4 separate regions of the Homo sapiens genome follow, and all the other regions are linked to region 4. Evidence: promoter capture Hi-C in 16 types of primary human blood cells and fetal thymus (Javierre and others, 2016). All regions are on one chromosome and are shown on one strand. Each heading gives the region's core, a stretch centred on a gene start or on the middle of the fragment in contact. The rest is flanking DNA. Distances are from core to core; before and after follow the strand shown. Region 1 overlaps STK32B (serine/threonine kinase 32B). Region 2 overlaps STK32B (serine/threonine kinase 32B). Region 3 overlaps STK32B (serine/threonine kinase 32B). Region 4 holds the start of STK32B (serine/threonine kinase 32B).

What was found. Contacts are between HindIII fragments. The CHiCAGO score rates a contact against its expected background, and 5 or more counts as called.
Region 1: a fragment that was not itself captured here is called in contact with the fragment with the promoter of STK32B in region 4 in 1 of 17 cell types (endothelial precursors); the score reaches 7.1 in endothelial precursors.
Region 2: a contact is called between a fragment that was not itself captured here and the fragment with the promoter of STK32B in region 4, in 3 of 17 cell types (M0 macrophages, M2 macrophages and M1 macrophages). The highest score is 5.9, in M0 macrophages.
Region 3: a contact is called between a fragment that was not itself captured here and the fragment with the promoter of STK32B in region 4, in 1 of 17 cell types (megakaryocytes). The highest score is 6.0, in megakaryocytes.

What each region holds. Positions count from the first base shown.
Region 1 is chr4:5,371,409-5,374,963 of GRCh38, reverse strand. The region is part of intron 4 of STK32B (serine/threonine kinase 32B); the gene reads right to left. Among named protein-coding and RNA genes, the nearest start is that of LINC01587, 150 kb to the left of the region's middle. The HindIII fragment of the contact is 634 bases long and covers 1,905-2,538 here.
Region 2 is chr4:5,463,690-5,466,898 of GRCh38, reverse strand. It overlaps STK32B (serine/threonine kinase 32B), which reads right to left. Exons shown (of 12, transcript NM_018401.3): 10 at 65-196. Among named protein-coding and RNA genes, the nearest start is that of LINC01587, 59 kb to the left of the region's middle. The HindIII fragment of the contact is 1,290 bases long and covers 1,290-2,579 here.
Region 3 is chr4:5,391,375-5,394,945 of GRCh38, reverse strand. The region is part of intron 4 of STK32B (serine/threonine kinase 32B); the gene reads right to left. Among named protein-coding and RNA genes, the nearest start is that of LINC01587, 130 kb to the left of the region's middle. The HindIII fragment of the contact is 6,269 bases long and covers 1-3,571 here.
Region 4 is chr4:5,050,216-5,053,442 of GRCh38, reverse strand. It overlaps STK32B (serine/threonine kinase 32B), which reads right to left and starts at 1,963. Exons shown (of 12, transcript NM_018401.3): 1 at 1,528-1,963. The coding sequence starts at 1,579. RefSeq lists an enhancer at 723-1,261. The HindIII fragment of the contact is 3,285 bases long and covers 751-3,227 here.

The DNA of each region.
Region 1 (3,555 bases), core at 972-3,471, 320 kb before region 4:
GGACTCTAGTATCTCCTTAACTTTGGACGCTTGCTAATCTCCGCTTTTAGGGAAGAAAGAACAGACATTGTCAGGCACCCTTGGCAGGCAGTGGTGTTAGCTGGCACTTAACAGCATTTTTCTGGTCTCACTGTATTTATTTTTATGCTCACTGCTGTGGTTTGAACGTTGGTGTTCCCCCCCCGCCCCCGTCAATATTCATATGTTGAAACATGAGCCTCAATGCAATAGTATAAGAGGTGGAACCTTTAGGAGATGATTAAGCTGTGAAGACTCCACCCTCGTGAATGGATTAATACCCTTATAAAAGACGCTGAAGGGAGGTGCCTTGCCCTTTCTACCACTTAAGGACATACAGAAGCATCTTCTATGGGGAGCAGGCCCTCGCCAGACACTGATTCTTCAGTCTTGGACTTCCTCCCTCCAGAGTTGTGAGAAATAGATTTCTGTTGTTTATCAATGAACCAGTCTAAGGTATTGTGTCACAGCAGCCTGAATGGGCTAAGACATCAATCCATTCTATTATTAGTCCTTATATTTATGACAAACTCTTTCCTCTTTAAGGGACTGATGTGAAGCGTCTTTTTGAAACACACTTATCTTAGCAAAAAGCATTTTGTCTATTATAGAATGTTATTCAAATAGTAGTACAGATGATTTCCAGATAAAGCAAAAATCATGAAGATAGAGAATTAGTTTCCTAGGGCTTCTGTAACAAATGACCATGACTGAGTGGCTTCAAAATACAAAGGCCAGAATTTCAAAGTCAAGGTGTTACCCTGAAGTTCTAAGGGAGAACTCTTCTTGCCTCTTTCAGTTTCTGGTGGTTCCTGGCATTCCTTGGCTTGTGGCTGCATCACTCACTTCCCTGCTTCCATTTCACATGGCCTTCTCCCCTCTGCATTTCCTCTTCTGTCTCTTATAAAGACATCAGTCATTGGATTTAGGGCTCACTGTAATCCAGTATGACCTCATCCTTATTCTTACCGGCAAAGATCCTATTTTCAATTAAGGTTGCATTTTTGAGGTCTCAGGTGGACATTACTTTTGGGGGAACACAATTCAATTACAGTAGGTAGTATTTGTTGGTGTGTAGATAGAGCAGAAATCACAAAGGTTGAAACCATCTTGGAAGCATGATCATGGGGGACCCACATACTCAGATTGCAGAGACAGCACTTTGCTGTGTGGAGTGAGAATGGCAGAGAAGACTGCATCAGTCAAGATCTGGGACAAAATCGGTGGGATGGGGAGAGAGGCGGATTCCTGAGATATTTCCTAGGGGCCCTGCAGATGGGAGATAAGGGGGACACAAAGGTGTGTGGGCTGCTATGCAGGTGTCTGCTCCCAGTGATTCCCAGGTGTTTGGATGAGATTCATAATTAAATTGGTGGACTGGGTAAAGCAGGTTGCCTCCCTTAAGAGGGGGTGGGCCTTGTCCGATCAGTTGAAGGCCTGGCTAGAACAAAAGGTCTGATCTTCCCCTGAGAAAAAGGGAGTTTTTTCTGCCTGACTACCTTAAAACTGAGATATTGGCTTTTTACTACCTTCGGACTCAAACTGAAACATGGGGGTTTCTCTTGGGTCTTGAATCTGCCAGCTTTCAGGCAGAAACTACACCATTGGATCACATGGGTGTTGAACCTGCTGGCTCCCACTGCAGATCTTGGGACTTGCCAGTCTCCACAGTCATCTGAGCCAATTCCTCATGGTAAACCTTCCTTCCTACACACATATCCTATTGGTTCTGTTTCTCTGGAGAATCCTAATATAGCTGGGCGAGCTATATGCATGAGTGCCTAGAAACCAGAGCATCCTTTCCTTACTCTGTTTTCTGTTTGAGTCCCACTTGAGGCCAAATCACAGTTTCAAAGCTTTCTCCCCTCCCCACCCTCCACAAAGCTTTTTCTGGCTTTATAGGCTGACCCCACAGCAATTCCAATCACGACTCCCAACTGCTGTGAATGAAATACTTGACATATATTCAATATTCAATCTTTATTGACTTCAAATGAATGAAATGAGGATTCCTCATTTGGGTCATGGGTCTTATGTCCTGAAGAGGCTCAACCATGCTGAACCCAATCATAAACTTTATTGGGCTCATGGCAGAAAACTAGGCTTTCATGCTCCATAGCATAAAATCCCTTGCAAAAATCAATCTGAATTCAAGAAAGAAATACTGATGCGTGGCAGAAAGGAAGAGCTGGACCTATTAGTCTGAAATAACCGCCCCCCCCCCCAACTTTCTCCTGCTGAGGCCACGAGCTCGAAGTGTGTAGATGCAGTTATTACTGTAATGATACAGGTAGAGCTGAAATTTTATTAAATAGTCCACTGACCCAGAAAAGATGGGAACAGAGTTGTCATCTTCTCCTTTTTAAACATTCTGAAATTTTTGGTCTAGTGTATGATGAAATATTAGATTACTGACACTTTCCTTAATAGGATGGTAATATTGAATAGTAATGGCCGTGTCTCGAATGTGAATGTGTGCTAAGGGAGTGAGAGGTCGGGAGTCCTGGGCTACCTGAAGCTTCAGGGCTCCTGCAAAAAGAATGACAGCACCATCATGGCATTTTCGGTAAATTAACCAAGTCCACCTACAGCCCGGCTGGACAGAGATGGCAGGACCCAGGGAAGTACCCAGAGCTACAGCATGATTCAAAAGGTGCTGCTCCTCCTTCACTCATGGGTCAGACATTCATCAGAATCTGCACCTGACTCTCTGTTTCCACATTTACTGTTCTGTTGCTGCTTGCCACGGTCCCCAATCCTTTGACTTTACTTTCTCACATGTAAGCCCTTCTGACTGCAGGTATGCATTCTCCTCCAAGGGGTTGCTCAGCTGTTGGCTAAGGTTATAGTGTTTGTCCCTTCTGTGCCATCTGCTGTATCTGCTCGCCTGCCTGCAGGCATGAGTGTGACCAATGCAGCCCACATCCTGGCCTGTTTCCAGGGCTGGAGAGAAGTGGCTTGTGCCCAGAAGGACATCTCTGCAGTCACCTGTGTGTGTTCTGCATGGAGGTGCTTTCAGCCCCATGGGGTATTGCCACCACCTGGGAAATGAGCTTACACAGTACTTTTGTCTGAATTGGGAAAAGACTCCCTCCAGAGAGAGAGGTCAGCAAACTCTGTCCTGGGGCTCAAGTCTTGATTTTGGAAATACAGTTTCATTGGAACTCAGTCAATGCTGTTCACAGATGCACTGTTTATTACGGCTGCTTTCTTGTTGCAGTGGCAGGGTTGAGTAATTTTGACAAAGACCCTGTGGTATGCAAGCCTGAAATATTTATGATCTGGCCCCTTTGGCAAATGTTTGCTTGGCACGCAGAGCACAGCCAGGGCTGGATTCCAGCCTCCCACCTCCCCTTCAGCCGGCTGGGCCTGGTGTTGTCTTTACAACAACCGCGCGAGGGAAATAAGACAAGAATCAGGCTCAGGAATGACAAAGACTCTCTCCTTAACCAAACTTTAGACAGGCTCCCCTGAACCTGCTTTTCTCCTAGGCCTCATCCTCGAGACCCATCTTTGGTTTGCTAAATCCAGTTTTAG
Region 2 (3,209 bases), core at 685-3,184, 410 kb before region 4:
GGCTCAGTCATTTCCCTATGAGCACAGGATTTCTCTCCCGGAACGGCTCCCACGAAGCACTCACCAGCGGGCAGCTGTCCTTTGTGCCATCCCTGGATCTGTTCTTTGCCAATCGCTTCTTCTTTTTGTGAAGTGGCTTGGATTCTAGAATCATCTCTTCAAGCTCAAATGTGGGATCGCAGTTCAACCTCCCTTTCTAAAGGGGAGTAGAAAAGAAAACATGGTCTGTCTGCGTTCCACCCATCACTGAATTTTCTTTTCATTAATTCAACCATTCATTCATTCAACAAGTAATGATGAACTTACTCTTGTTGGATACACGGGTTACCTTTGTTTCTGTTTTCTGATGATAAAAAGCAACACGTTCTCACTGTACACATCATATATTTACACATAGTCCCCCTGGGGCAACCGCACTCCTGTTAACATCCAGGTATTTCCTTAGGCCCCTTTCTATGCCTGTTTTTCATACTAGGCTGAGTTCAGTTTTCGAATCTGATTTTTTCACTTATTATTTTATCCTATGCACATTGTCCTGTCATTACTATCTTTTTTATAAAAATCATTCTAAATAACTTAAGAATACAATTTCAGCTCAAAATCTGCCCAACTTCCTGCCCTGGTTCCCTGCTCCGTACCCCCGCCTCCCGCCCCCTGGCAGCTAGAGTCAGCTGACCCTCCGGCCTGGCCCTGCTCCTGGCCAGGGGCTCCTCCCGCTGTGGTCAGGAGGAATTTAGGTCTCCCTGACTTCTGGGCCTTGGACCCAGATTCCTGGTAGCCACTTTCATTCCTCAGCTGTAGCCCAGATGATGGCCCCAGGTGCCGGTCCCCAAAGGCAATGCAGCCCGGTGGCTATAACAGCAGCTTTGGCGCGCACAGGGGAAAAATCCCAGTTCTGCTACTTCCTGATCTTGTAAGTTTCATGACTTCCTTGGGACTCAGTTCATTAGCTGTAAAGTTTGGGTAACAATAATTCCCATATAGGGAATTAATAATATAATATCTATAAAGTACTCCAAGTAGGGCCAGGCATGAAGCAAGTCCTCCCTACAGTGGTGGTCCCTGGGCCTGTTAGGACCTGGGCCTGCTGTGACCTGGCCAAGAAGGAGAGAGGCGAGGCACAGCCTTGAGGTCAGCCAGCCTTGCCACTGGGCCCTGTGTCCTCTCCTTTTACCTGCGTGATGCTGAGGGAGATTCATAACCTCTCTCTGCCTCAGTTTCCTCATCATTGTGAAATATGGCAGGCTCAGAGTTTGTTGAGGGATCAGATGATAAGAGTTTGCCAAGCTTCCAGAACGGTGGATGCCTGACCATGGTGGCCGTTCCACAACTGGCCATTCCCTCTGCTTCTCTGCTGTCCCCTCACCTCCCTAGGATTCCTGGCCTTGAACCCAATTTACAAGAAAGGGTCTTGCTACCTAAAGCTGAACTTGTCTTGGCCATGCTCCCTAATCTGCTTGATGCCAGCCAGTGCCTTTGCCATGACCTGGGGGCAGGAGGAAGACAGGGACTTTGCAGACAGAACTGGGGAAAGTCCTGGCTTCCCTAACTCCCAGGAACTCCCTAAACCTCTATGGGCCTCAGTTTCCATATTGTAAGATGAGGGCACTAGTGCAAGTCTGTGAGGCTGACATGAGAAAATGCAAGAAAAGCTCCTAGCCCAGCCCCTGCCACACAGGAGTTGCCCAATAAATGTTACCGAGTTGTTGTCACTGTGTCATTCGTGGGCTAATGGAGTGGAGTCCTATGTCCTTTGCCCCTTGCTTTCTCAGTCCTAGAGGCTGGGCCTCATCCTTTCTGTTGTGACCTGCTGTGGACCCTCCTTGGGTTCGCGGTACCAATGGCCTCTCCCTTCCCCTGCCTGGCACTGGGCTTTGTCCATCATCACCAACTCCTGGAACTCAACTATGATCACCTTCCCTGATTTCACACATCTGTCCTCCAGAAGTTGCCCTCCCCTAAGGAGCAAGTTGAATCTCAGGCCCAGGTCTCTCCAGACCTGTTTTACCTGCCACTCATTCATTCATTCATTCGTTCATAAATATGCAGGCTCTGCCTTGTTTTGCCTGCCACTCATTCATTCATTCATAAAAATGCAGGTTCTGGATCTAGACCATCTGAATTCAAACTCTCAATTTCTCACTGAGAAATCTTGGGCAAGTTGCCTAACCTTGCTGAGAATGCCATTAACAGGATCCACTGCCCAGGACTGGTGTGAAGCTGACACAAGATAAGTCACACAAAGTTATCAGAACAATGGCAGGTACACAGAACACGCTCAGACCTGTTGGCCATCATCATTCGTTCATTCACGTGACAAGCACACACTTAGGCCTTCTAGTGCCTTCTATTGTCACCCATTGTTCTGGGGTCTGGCTCAGGCAGAGAGAGGTCAGCCAACACTTCGCGGCCCTCACCCTCCGAAGCTCCCAGCAGGATGGCAGGCGCACTGCGACAGAGTGTTCTCACCACTGATGTATCCCTAGGCACTCGTGCAGAGGGTTGCAGGAGAGGCTGAGGCCTGCTCTGTGCAGGGAGGTGGTGGCGCTGGCTGGGAATGTCCCAGAGGAGGCCAAGCTTGGGCTTGTCTTTCCTTCAGAAGGTGACATAACTTGCCTGTCCCCTGCAAATCTCATGTTGAGATGTAATTCCCAGTTTGGGAGGTGGGGCCTGGTGGGAGGTGTTTGGTTCATGGGGACGGATCCCTCATGGCTAGGTGCTGTCCTCACAATAGTGAGTGAGCTCTGGTGAGACATCTGGTAGTTTAAGAGCGTGTGGCACCCCCCACCCCCACTGCTGTTCCTGCTCCTGCCACGTGACACACCTGCTCTTGCTTCACCTTCCGCCCTGACTGGAAGCTCCCTGATGCCTCCCCAGAAGCAAAGCTGATGCAGGTGCCATGCTTCCTGTACAGCCCGCAGGACTGTAAGCCAGTTAAGCCTCTCTTCTTTATAAATTACCCAACCTCAGTTATTCCTTTATAGCAATGCAAGAATGGCCTAATACAGAAGGCTTCTGCTGAGACTGGCAACTGGGCCAGTCCTTGCTTTATGCTGTCTTGAAGGAGGGGTAGGAGACTGCCTTGTGGACAAGGAGAGGAAGGGATCCCCGGAAGAGAAAGCGGCCTGTGCAAGGTTCCAGCTAGGAGACAGCACAGCCAGAGGGGAGGCTACAGACCTGTGGGTGGGGCTGAGGCTCACTGCCCTGTA
Region 3 (3,571 bases), core at 123-2,622, 340 kb before region 4:
TGATCCAGTTAAGCCCACCTGGACTCCTGGGCCACGGAAATGGAGGGAAAATAAATGTGAGTTATTTTAAGTTGTTAAGTTAGTGGTAATTAGTTTCACAACAATAGAAAACTAATTCTCTAGCTATATGATCTTGGGCCACTTACTCTCAGCCTTGTTTTCCTCATTTGGGAAATGGGAACAGCAACAGCCATCTCACTGTTGCTGAGTGTACAATGAGATGACATTTGTTCAGCACTTCACACAGTCCCAGTGCAGTGTGGAAGAAGTGCTGAAATAAGTCACAGTGATGGGACTGTCATTGCTCTTTCAAAAGGAGCTAGGGAGAACTCAGAGGCAGACTGGCAGATTCTTGAGCCTTTAGCAAATTAGGTCTCTTTCACAGGAGACTGCTGGGCAGATGCCTGCAAAGCAGCGTGGAGGAGATGGAGAATCTGAATCACTTGGGATTTAATAAGAATAGCATTTTATGGGTAAAGCATCTTAGCAGAGCCTTTAGTTTAGCCAGTTTCAGGACCGTTTCCTCCAGCTCTATTTTTCACATTGATCGTATCTCAGCTCCAGCGCGTCATCCTGTTGAAAACGGGTTTGAACGTTCAGAAAGGGCATCAGGAGCATTGCATGGATGGGAAGGCGGTGACGATGTTTCCTGAGGACAGACCCATAATTTCAGAGTTGGGCAAAATGACACTTTGATGGAAAGTACGCATGCAGGGCTATAAAACCCGGTGCTGCTCTTGAATTATTCCCCAGCCCTCAAATAAAACAAAGCATAAAATGTCAGCTGGGATATTTTAAAAAACAGCATAGAAATGGCTCTGATCCAGAGGTACCCATGCACAGACTGCAAAGCAGGGCCACCAGGATGTTTCTGCATGTGTCTTTTGGCAGGGGGCTTCTCAATATTCTATGCTGGCAATCTTATGCAGCAGTAAAGAGAAATACAAAAACCTGGAGGGGAAAGCTAGACTAAGCGAAGTAAAAATCTGCGGCTATTTTACAACTAGTGAAGGGAATATGCTATCCATATGCATGCAAGAGGGAGAGGGAGGTAGCAAAGGACAGAGAAGAGAGACTTGAGATCCAGTCCTGAGTCTGCCTCTTGCTGGCCATGCAGACAGGAGAACGCTGCCCTGGGTGAGTGATAGGGTTTGGATCTGTGTTCCCGCCCAAATCTCATGTCGAATTGTAATCCCCAGTGTTGGAGGAGGGGCCTGGTAGGAGGTGATTGGATCATGGGGGTGGTTTCTCCTGAATGGTTTAGCACCATCCTCTTGGTGCTATTGTCATGATAGTGAGTTGTGGTTGTTTAAAAGTGTGTAGCACCTCCCCCACTGTCTCTCTTGCTCCTGCTCCCGCCATGTAAGACATGCCTGCTTCCACTTTGCCTTTTGCCACCATCGTAAGTTTCCTGAGGCCTCCCAAGAATCCAAGCAGATGCTGCCATGCTTCCTGTACTGCCTTCAGAACCATGAGTCAATGAAACCTCTTTTCTTTATAAACAACAGTCTCCAGTATTTCTTTATAACAACATGAGAATGGACTAAGACAATGAACATTAGCTTCCTCACTTATAAGTTGGATAATAATGCCCTCTCTAATGGCTACAGTGAGGATTGGATGAGATGGTTCTTATGACAGCAACCAGCACAGGGCCAGGCACATGGAAAGGTGCGATTATGAATAATAACAGAGTGGGGCAAAGACATTTCAGTAGGAGGTTGAGCCAACAGAACAGGCACTAGGGAAGGATGACCAAAGGCATTTACTGGGGGTTGGGGAGGAATGGGAGGGCTTCACCTTGGCTGTTGACCTATGCCTTAGCCAACTTGAATGGGACTTGGCACCCATCCATCAGCAAGCTGATGTGGGATAGGATGCTTAGAATCTGTCATTGTATTGGCATGGATCATTCTCCTAGAAACTGAGTGACAATTAAGAAATGACAACACATCATCTCTACTCATTAAACATTACTTCTTTCTCCCTTCTGTCTCCTGCTTCCTGTGGACATGGGGACCAAGTACAAACAGCAGCCCCCAACACGGTGCTTCAGTGTTAATAGCAGTCCTGACAGTATTAACAGCTAAACTTTATTGAGTGTTGGTTGTGTGTCAGGGACAATCTGAAGTGTGTTATGTGGATTTAGCCATGTGCAGTGTGGCTATTTGTTACCAGGTGCTGGGGAGGCACTCCATATGTCATTATCTTGACACAACTCTTAGAGATAGGTATTGCTACTCCTATTTTACTGATAAAGAGAGAACTATTTACAGAGGGTCAGTGGTATGTCTGGTTCCTCCTTGTGATTTGTCAAAGGTCAAACACCGGTAGAGGTAAGACCTACTCTCATGTTGGTCTCTAGATCAATGTTCTCTCTCTGTGGGTGGGGAAATGAAAAAAAATAAATTAGGAATAAATTGGGGTTCCCAGAATTCTAAAGTAGGCAGTAATAATCTGAGGAACATGCTTATAATAAAGATCTGATTTGATTTTTAAATTAATTAATTATTATTTTTTGAGATGGAGTCTCGCTTTGTCACCCAGGCTGGACTGCAATGGCATGATCTTGGCTCATTACAACCTCCGCCTCCTGAATTCCAGTGATTCTCATGCCTCAGCTTCCCAAGTAGCTGGGATTACAGGCGTGCACCACCACACCTGACTAAATTTTGTATTTTTAGTAGAGACGGCGTATCACCATGCTGGTCTCAAACTCCTGACCTCAAGTGATCCACCCGCCTCGGCCTCCCAAAGTGTTGGGATTACAGGCGTGAGCCATCATGCTTGTTCTGATTTGATTTTAAAAAATTATGTTATTCACATTTCAGGAAACTTATCATTTATTACACCATCCACATGCAAGATTGCATTTCTTTTTTAATATGATTCAAATATCCTTACAAAGCACAAATCTGACCCTGTCCCTTCTCTACATAAATCCTCCTAATGGCCCTGTGGTGCCTATGGTGCTGGTGCGAGACTCCAGATTTGATGTTCCAATATAATCTCAGAGATGAAAAGTGAACACTGAGATGTGCTTGTCCACTTTAAAATCTGACAACTAAGGTCATTAATGATAACCGCCAAGTGCTACCATCATACATGCATGAGAGGGGAGGCAGAGGGAGCCATTCTAGCCCAGAAGAGTCACAAAGACACAATTTTAGATGGAAGCACAGTTGTCACGTGTCCCAGGCCCATTCGTGGTCAAGTGTTTAGAAAGCACTGATCCAATGGCCAGATTCCAAAGGCCTTCAGGCATTTCCTGATCTGGCCAGTAGGCTTGACCTCTGCACCCTGTGGCCCAGCCAGGCCAGACCATCTTGGGTGCTCTGGGTGCCTCGGTCTTTCCCTGGCCTTATCTCTGGATGCCACATCCTTTTCCCTACTGAACTCTGACCCAGGTTTCAGGATACAGCTCAGTTGCAATCTTCTCCTGGGATATTGTCAAGGGTTGCAAAATTCATGTCTACCCAGGTACCTAAGAATGTGATCTTATTTAGAAATACTGTCTTTGCAGGAAAGTGTGTGTCTATATGTGCCAGCAAATAGCGTCTTTGCCAGAAAA
Region 4 (3,227 bases), core at 714-3,213:
CACAAGCCCGTGCAATTGAGGGTGATGCTGCATAGTGTTCAAACTCTTACTGGGACATGCAAGAGCCTCCATTACCTCTGTGCCCACCTCTCCTCTGTCCACAACTGGCTCCTTACCTGCTCACCTGCACATGCTCCAGACTAAAGATCAGGAAAAGCTGGGGCCTCTCTGTGCCCCCAAGACCCTGCACTGGTTTCTCAATGCCCTTATCACCATGGACGGTCATTCAGGGCCATTAGACTAGGAACTCCTTTAAGGAAGGCTCTCGTGGGCCTGACACAGCAGGTGCTCACTTAACCTTGACTGTGTTCATCTATCTTTTTGAGAAGGGCTGTCCAGGCAGGCATCTGAGTAGCACTCACAGCCTTGGGAGTTCTAGAAGCCATCCATGATGTACGCACACAGCCAGTGCCCTGGGTAATGATGACAGGCACAGCTTTCAAAGCAGACTGTCCTGCCTCAAGCCCAGCTCTACTTCTTACCAGCAGTAACCAGGACAGACCCCTTTCTAAGGTAGCCACCTCAAGGGGCATGAAAAGGATGGAGTGAACACTATGTGCTAGCATGGCTGGAACATAGTAAGTGCTCAGTATGTCTCAGCTCTTACCTGGGGCACAGTGGAGACTGGCGAGTCAGCACAGTAGGAAACCAGCTTTGAGAGGCAGAGGGCTCTTAACATAAAAAACGGCACAGCTCGGTACTGCTTGCATTTATAAGGCACTTTTCACGTGGATTACTAGTGGTTAAGCTTCAAACAACCCTATAAAGTAGCTAGTGGTATCATAACTCACATTTCATTGATGAAGGGACTAATGTTTCAGAGAGGTGAAGTAAGTTTTCCAGGGACACGCTGCACTGGAAAGAGGGTTCTGCTAGTCCAAATAGGGAGCTCTATCGACCTGAACCGCAAGGATCCAGCCAGGAAGTTGAGATGCGGTTGGACAGCCTACACCACTTCTGCGCCAGGGGGAGGCTGCCCAGAACAGGACGCCCTCCTAGGAACCACAGAGTTTAGCAAAGAAAAGTTTCCCTCTGTCCTGGGTGATTGAGGAGAGCTGCATCCAACAGGCCCTTGCACGAGACCAAATGCGTCGTGGGCACGCGCACACACACACAGACACACGGTGCAACCCGCCCTTCCAGGCCACCTCCGTCAGCCTCAGGCTCTCAAGGAAACCTCGGTTTCCTGGGGAGCCCGAGCCTAGAACCATCCCGACTGGCCTCCGAAGTCAACTCCTCCCTTCCACACCCCCAAGTGCAGGTTTCGGGTTCAACTCTCTGAAGCCGCCTCCCCAGTCCCGCGCTAGGCACCGTCCCGACTACTAAACGGCACTGGGTACCTAGGAGTTGCCTCAGCAGAAGCGCCGCGCCTGGCACGGGTCGGGCACACACTGCATTCGCTGGGCGAAGTGGCCATGCCTGGGTCCCCGCGCCGGGCAGCATGCGGTGCCCCGCAGGGCTCGGCCGAGGGTGGTGGAGGAAGGGGATGCCCCGCGAAGCGGGAATTCGCACCTCTCGCTCTCTTACCTTCCTCATTCTCGTCAAACACGGGGGGCTTGTGGGAGTGGTTCCCGCCCATATTCCGCCGTTGCTGCCGCTGCTACATGCCCGGCCGCTGGGATGCCGGATGCGGGATGTGGGACGCGCGCAGAGATGCGGGATGCCGGGGGCGCGCCCAGTCCGGGTTGTAGCCGCGCGCGGAGCCCGAGGGGGCCGAGCACCGTGCAGGGGCGGGGACGGCGTCCCCCTTCTCCTGGACGCCCTTCCGACTGCGCTCGCAGGGACCCCGCTCTCGCCGCGCCTTCCGCCGTGCCCCGCCTCGGGCTGCGCTCGCAGCTCCTTACTCCAGTGCCCGCCCGGGAACCCGGGAGCTCCTCGCGCCGGGGCCAACGTGCGGCGCTCCTCGCCGGCTACAGCGGGCGGGAGACGCGAGGCGGCGCGGGAGCAGGGGAAGGAGGGGAAGGAGCGGGGGAGGAGGGGACGGACGAAGGCAGCACGCAGTGGGCGGCGGCAGGGCGGAAGGAGCTGAGAAAGGGATCGGCCCGGAAGAATCTGAATCCCTGCTCGGCCCTCCTCCCTCGGCCGGGAGCTCGGTCCCTGCAGGCAGTAAGCGGTTTGTCAGCACCCACTATGGCCAGGCCTCGGCTACGCGCTTTGTTAGCACCATCCCACATCCGCCTCCGACAACCCAGCAGTAAGAAAGCATCGTTCATATTTTAGAGCGCAGTAGACGGAGGTCTAGAGGTAGAGGGGCTCTTAGGTCTGTGGTTAGTCGGCCCCGGCTGCGAAGGGAGTCCCAGGACTCCCCGCTAGCCTGTATTTGCCCATTCATATTGGGATGGGCAGTGGAGTGTCTGCTGGCTCTCCAACCGACGCTGTTCCTCTTAAGGTTTTTCTCAGTGTTTAATGAATGAAAGTATCTGTTTACTTTCTGACCCCTTAAGATTAGATACTAATCTGACCCCTTCATTGTACATGGGGAAACTGAGGCCCCAGACAGCCATAGTTTGCCCCAAACCATTCTCCCTGGGAATGGCTGGGCATGAGTCTCGGGATTCCCCCAAAATTGGGCGGCATCGGCGTCCGATTTAGGGGCGAGGCTAGCATGAGGGTCCCTGGGCTCCTGCGGCGGGAGCCTGGATCGGGAGATACGCGCCACAGTTGCGGGTGCCTAAGTAAGGGGTGCGGCAGATGCGCCCCAAGACGTGTGGGGCGAGCGCGGGTTCCCAGGACGCTCCCTGAGGGACAGGCAGGTCCCCCTGCCTTGCAGTCCTGCGGGCCCAGCTCTCCGGGACTGCAGGGAATCTTTGGCTACATCCTGCCATCTGCTGGGCGCCTGGAACCACTGTCCGTGCTTTGATAGAAAGCAGGGGTTCTTTGTGACTCTCTCCATCCTATCTCGTCCCCCAGTCCCCGTCCCCTACCTGGTCTCTCTCTCCAGTTCTCTCCCCTTCTTTCTTTTTCTTGGGAGAAGGGTGAGGGAAGCCGGGGAGACTCATACAGAAACAAAACAAAACAAAACAAAACAAAAAATCTCTTAAAGGCAGTGGGAAAGAACTGAGAAGGTCTGAGGCAGGCCCACCCACCATGACCCAGAGCTGGCTCTACCATTTACTGGCAATGTGTCCCACTTTGGAGTTCTTATCTGCAAAGTGGGCTGATTGATATTAACTCCTTGGGTTGTCTGTGAGAATTATATCAGGTAATATTTATAAAAGCAGGCAACA